3 separate regions of the Homo sapiens genome follow, and all the other regions are linked to region 3. The links are contacts of gene promoters, found by promoter capture Hi-C in blood cells and fetal thymus (Javierre and others, 2016). All regions are on one chromosome and are shown on one strand. Each heading gives the region's core, a stretch centred on a gene start or on the middle of the fragment in contact. The rest is flanking DNA. Distances are from core to core; before and after follow the strand shown.

Region 1 (2,700 bases), core at 201-2,700, 5.5 Mb before region 3:
CATGCCCTCAACATTTTTGGATGGTTGCAAAATGCTGAATTCTCACAGAGGAAGAGGCCCTTCCTTAACTCTACGTGTTGAAATGTGAGAATGGCCCTGGGCTTCTGCTTGGCTTGTTCCCTCCCACTTCTCCCTACCTACTCAGGTTCCACCCACCTCTCTTGTGCTACTTAAGAGCACTTCCCACCTGAAGCCTTTCACTTCATGCCCTATCACTCTTAACTTTCCCTTCCTTCGGCCGGTAAACTTGGGGCTGGGTTTACTGGTCACAGAGACCAACTTCCCTCAAAAAAGCAAAATTCAGGAAAGCTCTGGAGGGAGAGGGGCTGGTAATAGCCAAGGGTTGATTACATACATAAGCCAAATTCTTAATGATTATGTAATTAATACATTATAACAATAAATACATAAATATGCTAGTACTTACTATGTGCTAAGCATTCTGCTCGGCACTTTCATGCACCCCTTGGGTAGTAAGAGCATCCAAAGATATTCTAGTTCCTCCCCTGCCTCCATTCACTGCCAAGAAGGCAGCAGCCTGCCCCCCTTCTCCCACCATCTCACTACTGATGCAGGGGCCATCCCCTGGACCCTAGGCATGGCTTTGCTCCTCAGAATGACAGGACCAAAAGCCTTTCATAAAGACTCCAGTGAGGTGACTGATGTCTGGCTTTGTCAATTACAAGTGAATAATTAATACTTGCCAGTAAAGAAATAGACTCATTGTTACGGTGGCCACATGGAGGCTACAAAAGGCCATTTTGTGACGCTTTTGGTGGACCCCTGGGGCCAACAGTGGTCCAAAGAAGCTGCGTTGAGAGTGTAGTCCAATCTTTAAACGTAGGGACTGGGACCCGTACTGTTTTCCAGGAGCGCTTTTCCCGTTAATTAGCTTGTAGCCGATTCATCATCTCATTCAGCTTTCTGGTTGATGACAGCAGCAGAGGCCACTGAACATCAGAGAGGGCATGATTTATCAGAGGGGTCATGTAGTGTTCTACCAGGGCCTTTTACCGGTTTTTGAATTCATGTCTACTTCCTTCTCTGGGCCAGCATCTGATTTGAGTAAAACTCTCCAACCCCACTGGGTTGTACATCCGACTCTTGGCCTAATGCCTAAAGCAAGTTTTTCCTTTTTCATTTTCCAGCAGGGACTGAACAAGGCAGCCTTGGGTGCCTACAGAACCGGTCAGAACTGGCCAGGAAATATAATAAAGAAGCTTAGTGAGCAGAGAGCTAATGCCCCCAGCCAGAGGCTCAGTGCGCACAACTAGCTAGAGGCACTGACTTTGTAAGCAACAACACTATCTTCTTGAGGTCTAATAATTGCCTTGGCAAAGGGCAGCCAATGCCAACGAGGAACCCTGTGTACACAAGTTTCTCATCCCGAAAGTGGACACTGGGTGCTCAAAAAATGCCTTCTGGTGACAGTAACACCTGACCAGTCAAACAAACATGCACGCATGCACATGCATGCATACACACTCTTACAGCATTCCTGCCTGCAGGGCCAAAGCTGCCCTTGCCAAATACAGAGCTGACAGCTGCTAGATATTGTCATTTCAGGGACCCGTTCCCAAAAGAACTACCCAGCTCCCCACCTCCACTTCCAGCCCACTGTTTGAAATTCTACCATTAGTGATAGCAAATATTTCTACAGTGTTTCCCATTAAAGCTTTGTTTCCCATTAAAATGCCTCCATCCTCTGTTTCTTTTCCGGTCAAATGACTTGTAAAGCACCTGCTCTGCATCAAATGGGAACTTCTTTTGTATTTAGCTCTTCAAGATAAACACAATCATTGGCTCCTTTCTTGAAAACCATTTCTGACACTGGAGACTGGGGGAAGGGCAGGGCACTGTATGGAAGTGGAGGTGGGAGGCCACCAGGAGGGCCACAGAGAGAGGGTCTAATGGTGGAGAAAGCAACCATCAAGGCCTTCACAGGCCTGCCCAAAGATATGGACCTGATTTTTGCCCTCTAAGATCTCAGGGACCCAGGTTGCTGGCACAGCCTGTATCCAAGAGTAAGGTGAGACCCACTGCCCTAACTGGGACACAGACAGGAGGCAGGAAATGGGAACACAGGAACCGACAGTCTCCTGATTTGCCCCTCCTGCCAGCAGGCCTGCCTCCGTCTCCCTGCCCATGCTGAGGGCACAGGCACCCAGGAACTAGCAGAAAAAGATCCTTGTCCCATTCTTGGCCTAGCTGGAAGGACAGCTGATGGCTCATCAGCCCTGGTGAGTGTTTCCACTGTGCTGGGGAAAGTAGGCAAGCAAAGGTCAAAATCAGATTCCCTGTGCTGGGGAGGCACCTGGGCTGTCAGTGTCCTTTCCAGCCGGGTTCTGGATATAGAGGGCCATACTTATGTGGAACATGCTACCTGCCCCCATCCCCAAGCAGAGAGCACCTCCTCCTCTTCTTTTGCACATAGGTGGGCTGTTCTTTGGGGTGAGGGGTAGGGCTGACCTGAAAAGTAGACGCCACAACAGACAGGCAAGCATCTTCCTGGTTCTTCAGAGCTCAAGAAAAAAACCACCTTTTCCCCCAGGAGTCAGCCCACTCATCCCCTTCCCCCACTTCCACCGTGCCCGCAGCCAGCTTGGTGAGCGATGCTAGTGTAGGCCAGAAAGCTTCCAAGCGGGTCAGACCTGCTCCTCTCTCATCAAAGCCCTCCGCCCCCAAACATCGACGCTGCGC
Region 2 (2,700 bases), core at 171-2,670, 5.6 Mb after region 3:
CCAGTCTTTTTTTTTCCCTTGAGATGAAGTCTCGCTCTGCCGCCCAAGATAGAGTGCAGTGGTGCGATCTCGACTCAGTGCACCCTCTGCCTCCTGGGTTCAAGCAATTTTCCTGCCTCAGCCTCCCGAGTAGCCGGGACTACAGGTGCACGCCACCATACCCAGCTAATTTTCGTATTTTTAGTAGAGACGGGGTTTCACCATGTTGGCCAGGCTGGTCTCAAACTCCTGACCTCAGGTCATCCGCCCACCTCGGCATCCCAAAATAATGGGATTATGGCCACCGCCCCTGGCCCTGTTTGGTAGTGGTCTAAATAGTCTGAGTCAGGCAATGGGACCAGGTAGGCTTTCAGTCTCTTGCTTAAAAATGGAGATTGTTGGCCGGGCACGGTGGCTCACGCCTGTAATCCCATCACTTTGGGAGGCTGGGGCGGGCGGATCACGAGTTCAGGAGATCGAGACCATCCTGGCCAATATGGTGAAACCCCGTTTCTACTGAAAATACAAAAATTAGCTGGGCGCGGTGGCGCGCGCCTGTAGTCCCAGCTACTAAGGAGGCTGGGGCAGAAGAATCGCTTGAACCCGGGAGGCGGAGGTTGCAGTGAGCCGAAACCGCGCCACTGCACTCCAGCCTGGAGACAGAACGAAACTCCCTCTCAAAAAAAAAAAAAAAAAAAAAAAAAAAAAAGGAGATTGTTGGCTAGGTACGGTAGCTCACGCCTGTAATCCTAGCACTTTGGGAGGCCGAGGGAGGCAGATCACGAGGTCAGGAAATCGGGATCATCCTGGCTAACAAGGTGAAACCCAGTCTCTACCAAAAATACAAAAAATTAGTCGGTGTGGTGGCGCGCGCCCATAGTCCCAGCTCCTCGGGAGCCTGAGGCAGGAGAATTGCTTGAATCCGGCAGGCCGAGGTTGCACTGAGCCAAGATCGCGCCACTGCACTCCAGCCTGGGCGACAGAGCGATACTGCGTCTCAAAAAAAAAAAAGGAGATTGTCAATACGCGGTTATACAATGTCTAAATGCTGGGCTGTTGAATGCCACTGACAGTAAAAAATATCTGTGCATAGTGGCAAGCCATAAGTAGCACCTCAGTCACCGTATAGTAATTAACTGCGTATCCTGGCATCCCGACAGGCAACCAGCTCTACCGGGTGAAAAGGTTGATGGCCAAGGGACTCCAACCTAACCAGGGCGCACTCGCGGCATTCTGCGATCCCGCACTGCATCATGGACTTTGTAGTTCAACATGCCAGTGACGTCACTGCCGGTTCCCCTCTGAGTGGGCCTATCGGGTAGACTTCCGATAACCCGTTTTTCTCTGGGAATTGTAGTCAGTTAGCGCCTGCTGGGTGTCTGCTCGGGTGGTCTGGGAACTACAATTCCCGGCGGGCTGTGAGATGCCTTGGCTGTAGTTAGTAAGGAGCCGGATGATTGCCTCAGCAGGTGTGAAGCGTGTGCTTTAGTTTCGTGGGAGGCCTGGCATCCCCGAGAGGGAGGGGAAAGGTAACCACTCCTTTGTGGAGGTCGCCAGGGTCATTGTCGTGGATTTGCACAGTCGGCTGGGCGGTGCAATGGCGGTGAGTTTGAGCGAGAAGAATCCGCAGGGGCCCTGGAGCCGGACTGGCCAGTCTCTAGGGGCTCTCCATGTGCTGTCCTGAAGGGAAAGTCCTTTTCTAAAAGAGAGCCACGCTTAAGGCGTGCCTTTCGTAGAGACTTTGCTTTTTCTTGCTAGTTTATGAACCACGAACTGATGTCTGTTAACTTTACGGAGTACTTGGATATCATATTTGTTATTTCTCTGGAGTTTCTAAAATCGAGGTGGAGAGCCGGGCACGGTGGCCCACGGCTGTAATCCCAGCACTTTGGGAGGCCGAGGCGGGTGGATCATTTGAGGTCAGGAGTTCGAGACCACCCTGGCCAACATGGTGAGACCCCGTTTCTACCAAAAATACATAAATTAGCCGGGCGTAGTGGTGCGCGCCTGTTAACCCAGCTACTCGGGAGGCTGAGGCAGGAGAATTGCTTGAACCCGGGAGAGGGAGGCTGCTGTGAGCCAGGATCGCGCCACTGCACTCCAGCCTGGGCGACAGAGTGAGACTCCGTCTTAAAAATAAAATAAATAAATAAACAAACAAATAAAGCCGAGGTGGAGAGAGGAGTATGTAAGTTGATTCCTACTTACAGCAAAAAAAAAAAAAAAAAAAAAAAAAAAAAAAGAAAAAATTGAGCGCCTCTCCGTAAAACAGACAAAAATCTCTCTTTTCATAGTGTTTATGTGTGTGGGTAAAATACATTGTAAAATATTGTGTCAGGTGCTGATAAATGCTGTGGGGAAAAAATAGAGCAGGAAGGGGTGCTAGGGAGTGTACGGTGGGGTAGTACAGTTGCAATTTTTAAAAATTTTTTTAAATTTGGGAGATGTTCTCACTCTGTGACCCAGACTGGAATGCAGTGGCGTGATCATGGCTCACTGCAGCCTGGACCTTAGGGCTCAAGCGATCCTCACACCTCAGCCTCCCCACAGCTGGTACTGCAAGCGTGCTCCATTACACCCTGCTAATTTTTTGTATTTTTAGTAGAGACAGGGTTTCGAACTCCTGGGGTCAAGCGATCCTTCTGTCTCAGCCTCCGAAAGTGCTGGGACTACAGGCATGAGCCATCCCGCCTGGTTTTATTTTTTTTTGTTTTTTGTTTG
Region 3 (2,700 bases), core at 144-2,643:
CAGAGGTCCAAATAGTATACTGTAACTGGGCGCCAACCTTTCTATTCCAATTCCGTATTTTAACCCACAGATGCTAGTGAGATCTTAAATTCGTCGCTTTGCACCTCATTCCCTTCAACTATAAAGTGAATCTTCTCAAGGTCTTTCTGCAAAAGTCTCCTCCAATTAAAAAAAAAGTAGAGAAAAAAAAATTCAACGTCTAAAACCGGAGCCTAACTTCCCGCTGGCGGGAATTTCCCATCAGCAATCTGAGATTCAAACCCGATGAGGAACACAGTCCATGTTCATTTGCACTTACTCATCGTTTTCCCTACTTTTTTCCAGAAGCTACGGTGGCGGCACATCTACCCAGGGCCTGTACAAGTACACGTAGAAAGGAAGCCCAAACCCTTTTCCTTTGTCACATTCCCACTTCCAACCCTTGTCTCCCTGGAAGCCCAGAACTAGCCCAAGTACAAATGCCGCTGCAGCCTTCTCGGCAGGTGGCCTTTTGAGGCTGATGCTGCCCCGAGGGACAAGTGCTCTGGGGGCAAAGACTAAAAACAGGCTTGGGAAGCGGGGAGCTCGGAGTCAGAGGGCCCGGCGTCAACAAATCCCCGCCCTTCCCGTGCGTGCCTGTGACCCCGCTCTCCAAACCCGTGCCTTGGGCCGCTAAGGAAGGAGGATAGCCGTACCCACCTCGCCAGCTCACTGCAAGAATCAAATGAAAGGCAGAAAAGTGGCTCCGCACAGTGCCGGACACACAGTGAGGGCGTGGAAAGAACATTGGTTGTTACTACCACTCCGTGCACTCGCTGCTCCCTCTTTGCTCTCTGCAAAACCGAAGGCGCTTCTGCGACGCGCGGACCGCAAGACTCCAATCAGACTTTAGTGCTGCCCCCACCCTAAACGAAAGCCTCCTTCTGGTCCGAACCGACTGGATCCCTTGGCCAGGGGAGGAAAAGGTGCCGCGGGCGCGTGGCGGAGAGGGTGGCGGGCGGGAAACGCTGGGCGCGGGACCCCTGGCCCCAGAGACCGCCCTGGGGCCCAGGCGGCGGCCGCGGCTTACTCCTGCCCCGCGAGGCCGTTGGACGCAGCACGCGCACGCGGCGGACACGGCCACGCGCCCCAGCCGGGACGGGAGCGGGAGCGAGGAGCCGCCGCGCGCCCGTCCGTCCGCCGCGCGCGCCTGCGGCCGTTGGGGTGGGGGTTGGGGTGGGGGACGCGACTGGCGCGGCCGCCGCGAGCGCCACTCAGACTTCTCCCTCTCACAAGTGCTGCGGCTCGGCTTAGTCCTCTGGCCTCCCTGCCCCGCCCACACCCCGGCGTACCTACGCGGCTGAGCTGGAGAGGAACTAGCTCTGCACCACAGCACCGAGGATAGTACAAACCCCTCACGCAACTGCGTCCGCACACACGCGTGCTCCGCCGCCGGTCTATATAACTGCCACTCACCCTAACTTGTTGCGGCCAGGTCGGGCGACGGGATGACCAATCCCGACCGCGTCCTCAGGGCTCTTCGAACAGTAATTGGGCACTGACTCGGGGATGAAGGCGTGGCTCTTGATTGGCTTTGACTCCTGCCTATGAGACTGTGAGGATCTCGTTTCCCTAGTAACAGATCGGCACTAAGAGAGACCAATAACCGAAAAGTACAATAGAAAGGCGAGTGAGCAGTTCTTTGACTGATACTCAAAGTAGCCAATAAATGTGTGGGGCTGCTCTTATTCGTTAACACGTCTTCCCCTGGGCGGAGATCCGTTTTCCATGCAGGAGCGGTTGCGCCACAAGGTGGGGCCCGTGTACTTTGGGGAAGTAAACCCCTAGCAACTAGGAGGCGGGCGTCCGAGAGGCCAAGACAGCCTGTGGCCAATCGCAACGCCGGAAGGAGCTGATAGACACGGAGGTTGCTCTGCTCGGAAGAGACCGAGCCCCAGGGCCGCCGTGCCCTCTGGGCGGTTGTGAGGCTGTGCAGCCTGCGGCTTCTGCCCTCTTTCTTTCCCTGACTGGTTGGGTCCGGCCTCCGAGGCCTGTACCCCGCCTTTTCCGCATAGGTTTGTACCTGGCGAACCAACTAGTAAAGTTTCCCGGGTTGTTTTCTTTTTATTACAACTTTTTTCTTACGTGCGGCGGCCAAGGGCCTTGCTGCTCTCACCATTACTCAGCACTGCTGCGGGGCAGAGGAAGGAGGGTCGTTCCTGCGCCGCCCGCAGGCTCCCGCCGGAAGGTCGCCGGTGGAAGGCCTGAGAGTGCGCCCTTCCGCCAGGCGCTTCTTGGCGGGCGCTGCGAGGCGGCCGCGGGCGTGTGGCGAGGCTCCCTTTGTGGCAGCTGAGGCACGGTGGTCCGCGCGTGCTCCAGTGGAGTGTGGGCCCTCGCACCACGTCCCGAGCTGCACCACTATTGTTCAGCCTCGAATTGCCGCGGGTGGGGGCTTATTCTCGTCGCTACGCCTTTAAAAGGCAACTCGTCCCCTCCTCCTGGCGTTTCAGGCACTGGCGGGGCTACAACTCAAGGCTGGCCGGCCCTATTTCTATGGAAATAGCTTTGGTTCCCAGCCGTCCGGCACAGACACGCCCCGGTTTGTTCTCGTTCCAGGCATGTGACCAGGGTCTCCCGCGGAGTTTTGCTGAGAATTTTGGAAATGAAGCATGTGGAGCGCCTATGTCGGGGGAGAGAGGCCGAGCTGAAGGAGCACGGGCGCCGGCCTCGGCCTCTGGGGAG

What was found. The method cuts DNA at HindIII sites, captures the fragments that hold promoters and counts their contacts. A CHiCAGO score of 5 or more calls a contact.
Region 1: a contact is called between a fragment that was not itself captured here and the fragment with the promoter of G3BP1 in region 3, in 1 of 17 cell types (fetal thymus). The highest score is 6.9, in fetal thymus.
Region 2: the fragment with the promoter of LARS1 here is called in contact with the fragment with the promoter of G3BP1 in region 3 in 1 of 17 cell types (fetal thymus); the score reaches 5.7 in fetal thymus.

Annotation. Positions count from the first base shown.
Region 1 is chr5:157,266,716-157,269,415 of GRCh38, reverse strand. All of the region lies in intron 1 of CYFIP2 (cytoplasmic FMR1 interacting protein 2), which reads right to left. Among named protein-coding and RNA genes, the nearest start is that of CYFIP2, 1.9 kb to the right of the region's middle. RefSeq lists an enhancer at 2,077-2,186. The HindIII fragment of the contact is 455 bases long and covers 1,223-1,677 here.
Region 2 is chr5:146,181,370-146,184,069 of GRCh38, reverse strand. LARS1 (leucyl-tRNA synthetase 1) reads left to right here and starts at 1,420. Exons shown (of 32, transcript NM_020117.11): 1 at 1,420-1,582. The coding sequence starts at 1,577. RefSeq lists enhancers at 1-828, 1,737-1,896. The HindIII fragment of the contact is 6,101 bases long and covers 1-2,700 here.
Region 3 is chr5:151,770,647-151,773,346 of GRCh38, reverse strand. It overlaps G3BP1 (G3BP stress granule assembly factor 1), which reads right to left and starts at 1,393. Exons shown (of 12, transcript NM_005754.3): 1 at 1,311-1,393. It overlaps LOC100652758 (a long non-coding RNA gene), which reads left to right and starts at 1,171. Exons shown (of 2, transcript NR_132345.1): 1 at 1,171-1,644; 2 at 2,575-2,700. RefSeq lists silencers at 767-836, 887-1,216 and enhancers at 1,425-1,719, 1,977-2,206, 2,585-2,700. The HindIII fragment of the contact is 14,997 bases long and covers 1-2,700 here.